Linked DNA regions of Homo sapiens: region 1 is linked to region 2. Evidence: promoter capture Hi-C in 16 types of primary human blood cells and fetal thymus (Javierre and others, 2016). All regions are on one chromosome and are shown on one strand. The core of a region is centred on a gene start or on the middle of the fragment in contact, and the rest is flanking DNA. Distances in the headings are between cores, read along the strand shown.

Region 1 (3,196 bases), core at 500-2,999, 220 kb after region 2:
TACTAGGAACACTGTTAACACCATCATCTTGGAACTCCGCAAAACTTCTACCACAACAGTTAGGAAGTGAAAGGAGGAATCTGACAAGAAGAATCTTAGTTTTCCCAAAAATTATAATATGCTGCTGCTCCTAATAACTGCTTGTTGTTGTAGTTTTCAAAGTACTTCCGCATACCTTATGTCACTGAACCTATACAGGAACACTGTGACGTGGGTAGAAAGGCAGGATCATTCCTAATCTGAGATGAATACTCTATAACAACCTGTAGACAGCAAAGTCTCTGAGTCCCACATTTCTTCCCAATGTCAGTTAGTGTAATAACGTGCCACTTTGGTGGCTCCCACATTAACTGTGACTTCACAACCAAGAATGAGTCCGAAAACACTCCGACTCTGCCTTTGCAGTCAGGATCATGAGTGACAGTTGCCATAATGCAGAAGCACTTACTTGGATTTGAAAGCTTAAACCATGATTGCTTTCAGTACTGCTCCGGTACCTCTGTCTGCACGTGGCAGGTGCGTGTGGGCACTTGTGGGACACAGGGGTGGTCTGGCACACTGACCTTGAAGCTTCAGCTGGCAGCCTTGGCAAGAAAGATGTCTCTGCCTTTCAGCTTCCCATAGTACCAGGCAGTAAGAATTACAGGACTCAAGCTCTGCTAGAAACTCTTACCATCCCTAAAAAAGATTTCAGCAAGAGACACGACTACCAGGCCACACAAACCGGGTCACCTAGCCTTCTGAAGGCAGAAGCAGCGATGGTGCATGGGGCAGGACGGGCAGGGAACAGCACGGGCATGTCCTGTGGGGAGGGCGTGGAGGGCATGTTCTCCCCGTGGCAGGGAAGAATGACAGCGCCACCTACCTTGCTGCAGACAGTCTTCACCTTGTGCAGTCTATCCAGCGACTCCTGTGGGTTCCCCAGGTACTGCTGAAGCTCCGCGTGCAAGATGCGCATCGAGAAGGGGACCATGGAGCCTGGAATCCAATCAGTGCTGAGTGAGTTTGTTTGCCATAACTGAGCACGCATTCATACTTGGCACACTTGAAGGAGGCGTCGCAGATGTCCCAGCAGAAGTGATGACAGATCCCTTTATTTCTTGTGAAGTATTTAACGGTGTCAACTATAAAATACATGCTGGTTTTCTCTATGGAGCTCTATGTATGTATGTCTCGACAATTATCAGAGGAGACAGGTGGATGACACCACAATTTCCAAAGCTACACTGCAATCATTTAGAAATGATCCCAAAATGAATGAAACAGTAGAGACCGCCAACCCCTCCTCCAATAAAAGAAAAACCAGAATGCTCAGATATTCTTTAATATTTCTTTAGTTTAGCAAGCTCGAATGGTAGGTTGCTTAGCTTGGGTTCCCCAGAAGGAGACCCTGAAGGGAGAAGCCGTAAGCCAGCCAGTGGTTCCGGAAGTGCTCCCGGGAAAACCAGTGGGGAGGAGGCGAAACTGAGCACAGGTGCGTCTCAGGCCTCGGCCCTGGGGATGGGCCTCCCACTGGATTCCATGTGGCCCTGGAGCCTGCGTTCCACCTCTGACAGGAGGCAAGGGAGCTGGACTTGAAAAATCCATCACCCAGAGCTGCCTGGCTTTGCGTGCGCTAAGAAGAGGAAGAAGCTCAGGAGAAACCCCCTTTATATCGTATCACCTGTGGCTGCATCATCTCTCAGGGTAAGGTCAACTTTTTGTTAATATTGTGTTCTCTTCTAATAGGATTTGGAATTTGATCTGTAGTATGTATACTAAGTAGATAACAATCATCAAAAAATCAAATAGCGTGCACTGATTATAAATGAGATAAAGAATAGAGAAATGCCAGAGGGCAATCACATAGATTCAGTAAAGTGCTTTTCAAAATAGGCCTAAGCGATGAATATTCGGATCTGGAATATAGTCTGAAAGATGGTGAGAAAACACGCGTATGACTTCTGCAAGCCACTTAATGTATCTGTGCCTCAATGCATCCATCTGTCTATTCATTAACCATTACTGAGAATGGGCCGTGACCACACTGAAATGAGCTTTATGTTTATGGTCTTTAATAACAAAGGTCCAAAAAGAAGACAGTCAAAATTAAGGAACACTATGGAAAACAGTTCTATTGTGATTATAAGCCTGGAGAAAAGAAAGGTAACAATTATTGAACTTAAAATGTTTAAACTTTCTTTTTTGATGCCACTAAATAATTTCTGTATCTCAAGAGAATATCTGGCCGAGCTTAAGTTACAGCCTGAGTCACTTCGGTTTTCTAGAAATAAACATTTCTAGACCATCCGCATAATGACACAGGGGACTGGCCTACAATTAAGTCATATGTAAGTCATGTCACTGTGGAACCGGCCCAACATGGTAAGTTATATGTAAGCCACGTCACTTCCATCCTTCTGTCTCAAGTAGAGAAGGGGCCAGAATCACTCCTGTGTGGTTTATCACTTACCACAAGGGAGAGAATATCTCAAGAACCCTTCAAGCTCTATAAGATAAGCACAGAAACAAACCTCTACTGGAAGTTCTCAAACCCAACTTGGGACTAGCTGTTAATACTCCGATCTCAGTTTACAGACTAGCTGTTAATACTCCGATCTCAACGTACAGACTAGCTGTTAATACTCCGATCTCAACGTACAGACTAGCTGTTAATACTCCGATCTCAATTTATAGACTAGCTGTTAATACTCCGATCTGGAATACAGTTTGGTGGATGGTGAGAAAACAGGCTGTGTGACTCCTGCCACTTCACCTGAGAAGGTGGCAGAAAGTTAGCTGCCCCTTATCCTGACAACTGCCCATGGACATGGGGGTGCTTCTGGATGTAAAAGCACATGTGAAAATATTTTGAACTAAGTGAAAATAAAAATACAACTTATCAAAATTTGTGGGATGCAGCAAAAGCAGTGCTGAGAGGAAGCTTTTTAGCATTAAATGCATATATTGGAAAAGAAAGATCTGAAACCAGCTTCACCTTTGAAAACTAGAAGGAAAGAAAGAGCAATATAAGCCTAAAGTAAGCAGTAGAGAAGAAAATAATAAAAATATTATTTTATTATAAGAAAATAAAATATTTTATTATAAGAAAATAATAAAAATATTATTGTATTATAATAAGAAAATAATAAAAATATAATAATAAAAATTAGAGCAGAAATCAGTGAAACTGAAAACAGGAAATCAATAGACAAAA
Region 2 (3,400 bases), core at 123-2,622:
CAGACAGCCTGTGGCAGCTGCTTCTAAGCTCATTGCTGCAACCCCTCCCACTGCCTGCTCAAGGGAGCTCTTAAATACATTTTCTGCTGTGGCTGAGACCAGACCCAGGGTCAGCTCTGATGTTTGAGGAACATGCTAAAGTTTTACCTGCAAATTTCAACTTAATCACCGCAAATGAGGAGCATTGTCATGGGTTACGGCAAGGCGATGAGGCAATGACTCTCTAAAATAGAGTCATGAAATTTCAGGCAGTCAAGTGGTGCTCACACTATTTTTTCTTTTGAGATTAGCCTTAAAATAAGAAAAGGCATGACCAGGCAAGTCTAGGAAGCACAAGAAAGAGAGACCTCCCTCTGACAAGCAGGGAAGGCTGTGCTGATGGAAGAGTTACTCCCTCGTAAAGAAGAAAACCTTCAGGGGCTTTGTCATCGCTGTCAATAAGTTCCGAAGAAGCCTTTGGCCAAAAGTATGAGATTTATGGTGAAATAATAAAAGTGGTTTGTTCAAATTTGGGACAAAATTAGAGTGACCTTGAGCAGGGACTCTGAGCAGCCCAAGGTCAACTGCACGAGACTCCTGACTACCGGCAACTCTTGGTATATATTTACATTTAGTTCTACTTTGTGACTCTTGTTTTGAATATAGGTTTACTTCACCATGGCCTTAGTTGTTTAGGTTTTTTTTTTTTTTTTTTTGAGACAGGGTCTCACTCTGTCATCCAGGCTGGAGTACAGTGGCATGATCTTGGCTCATTGCAACCTCCACCCCAATCCCATCCCGGGCTCAAGCAATTCTCCCATGTCAGCCTCCCAAGTAGCTGGGACCACAGGCACGCACCACCATGCCTGGCTATTTTTTTGATTTTTGGTAGAAATGGGGTCTTGCCATGTTGTTCAGGCTGGTCTCAAACTCCTCAACTCAAGCAATCCACCCACCTCGGCCTCCCAAAGTACAGGGATTACAGGCATGAGCCACCATGCCCAGCCTCTTTAGATTTTTTTTTAAGAAGGCCAAAGTCACATGATTTGAAACCAAACAGAGCAGTGACCAGAGCCCAGAAGCCTGACCCACCTGTGGGGCCCCTCCAGGTGTTTGGGCCACGCCCGGTACCAACACAGTTCAACGGCACAAAGTGGTGTCTGTCACCATCTACCCTCTGTCACCTTCCAAGTGTCGAGGGTTCGTTGCATGACTGAAATTCATCTCTGTCACCCTATTCTTTTGGCAAAGCCCACCTTAAAGATAGCAAGGTATTTATAAACCACACTCCAGCTCACCCAGCAGTCAGAAATCAAGTATTCATAAATGGATCTCTTGCTCCCCAGAAGCCAGCCAAGGTCCCACGGTGCTTGAGTGCCAGCTCAGAGAGAATGTATAGGGGCCTGAGGTAGAGACAGAACTTTGCAGAGATTGGCTGTGCCTGTATGATGTCACAAGGGTTGCAGAGAGGTGGAAGTAACAGGGGGAGCAGCCCCTCCCCGGAGAAGCCAAGCAGGCCTCTGCAAGACCCTCGCACAAGGCCCGAAGCCAGACATGGTCCCTGCTGGTCCCAGGGCCCTTCCCTGTCCCTAACAAAGCTGCCTCCGGCCACTGGCCTGGGCCTGAAACCCCCACCTTCCTGGTCCGGCCAGTAACCTGACTTAAAGTTTTATCTCTAGACGTCACCTATTCACTAATCATCATTAACTCAGAAAACACTGAGCACACCCAGCAGTGGGTCCTGACCTACTAGAGAAGACAGGGGCCCTTGGGAGGGTTTGGCTAGAGCCCCTCAGCCCCAGAAAAAGTAAATACACACAAAATTTTCATGGAATTTAAAGAAGCCCACAGATGCTTAAGAAAGGGCACCTTGCCAAGTGGATGCTAGGCCTGTGGCATACAAAACAACACGTGCCGCCTGCCTTCAAAGGCCCCACTGTCTGCAGAAGAACTTTCCATGCAGAAAGAAACAGCTGAGCCCGGCTTCGACATGCAGTAACAGACGTTGCCTTGCTTCACCACAGCCACCCTGCGGGGCAAGCTATCCACTCTGCAGATGAATCAGCTGGGGCCTTGAAGGCAGGAAAGCCACCCGAGGTCACCTGCGCAGGGAGGGACTGAGCTGGAACCAGAACCCAGCACAGCAGATGGCGCGCACAGGGGCCCTTGGGGCTCCAGAAAGACAACCTGCGTCCCAGGGAGATCCATCACCCACACGCTCCTTTTTCCTTCCTGGGTTTTCTTTCCCCAGGGCCTGACCGGCCTTCTCCTCCTGAACTCCAGCTTTCCCAGAGGAAAGCAAAGCCATTTGAAAGGCCGGCTCAAGGCCACCTCCAACTGAGAACCCCACCCCCAACCCCAGCCCGTCTCTCAGCCCCGCCACCCAGCCGTAGTTAGGATGCGTCCAGCGCCTGTTGTCTGATCTCAGCTCGCCCGGCCTTTGAGTCCATGTTTACACATCTGTCTGCCCATCCAGATGAAATTCTTTAAGAACGAAACCACATCCTATGCTGCCTTCCATAGCTGACTGTATTTTAATGAATTAATGCACGTGGCTTCGTCCCTGGCAGTTCTTGTCAGCCGTGACTTCCCCGCCACAGCAGTGCAGTGCCCCCGCTCGCCGCCTCGGATCAGTCACAAAGCTCACGGTGCGGAGAACAGAAGGGCCTATTTTTATCCTCGTGGTTTCGCTAAGCCTAGGCTGTGGCACCGATAAAGCCATGGAAGAAGGCACCCTGACCCCTGCCCTCCACACCCTGACCTCTGCCCTCCACACCCTGACCCCTGCCCTCCACACCCTGACCTCTGCCCTCCACACCGAGCTGGCTCCTACAATCTAATGTGCTTCCAAATCACCTACGAGCTGGTTAAAGTGCAGATTCTGACGCTGCAGATTTGAGATACGGCCTGAGGCTTGAGATTTCTCCAAGCTCCAGGGCGATGCTGGGGCTGCTGGGCCATGGCCAGAGGTTGAGCACAGGGCTCTGCCAGCTAGCTGCCCCATCCGACGTGGCAGCCACTAGCTATGCTAAATTCAATACTTCTCTAACGCTAAAATCAACTTAATTTAGTGAAGTTAAAAGTTTGGATGCTCTGTCTTATGAGGTAAGTTTCTAGTGCCCAACAGCCACATGCGGCAGAGGCGACAGGCTGGGCTGCACAGCTACAGAACTTTCCATCGTGGCACAGCAGACGTCCTGTGGACCCATCTGTGGGGCGGGAGGAGAACAAGAGCTGGCAGAGAGGTGGTCCCAGAGCAGTGGCCTGAGCCAGACGTGAGGCTGTTCTCGGAGCTCCGTAGGGGCTTCAACCCTCCTGCCTTGGTCCTGCCAAGACATGAGGATTCTCATGGAAAGGGCTGGAGCACCCTCAGAATAATGCCGCCATCCCCGGCCTCCCTGGGCTCCCAGGAGGCAAGGAG

What was found. The method cuts DNA at HindIII sites, captures the fragments that hold promoters and counts their contacts. A CHiCAGO score of 5 or more calls a contact.
Region 1: a fragment that was not itself captured here is called in contact with the fragment with the promoter of ALLC in region 2 in 3 of 17 cell types (activated CD4 T cells, total CD8 T cells and naive CD8 T cells); the score reaches 7.7 in activated CD4 T cells.

What each region holds. Positions count from the first base shown.
Region 1 is chr2:3,441,561-3,444,756 of GRCh38, reverse strand. TRAPPC12 (trafficking protein particle complex subunit 12) reads right to left here. Exons shown (of 12, transcript NM_016030.6): 6 at 866-978. Among named protein-coding and RNA genes, the nearest start is that of TRAPPC12-AS1, 40 kb to the left of the region's middle. The HindIII fragment of the contact is 2,353 bases long and covers 573-2,925 here.
Region 2 is chr2:3,656,172-3,659,571 of GRCh38, reverse strand. ALLC (allantoicase) reads right to left here and starts at 1,372. Exons shown (of 12, transcript NM_018436.4): 1 at 1,278-1,372. The HindIII fragment of the contact is 6,896 bases long and covers 1-3,400 here.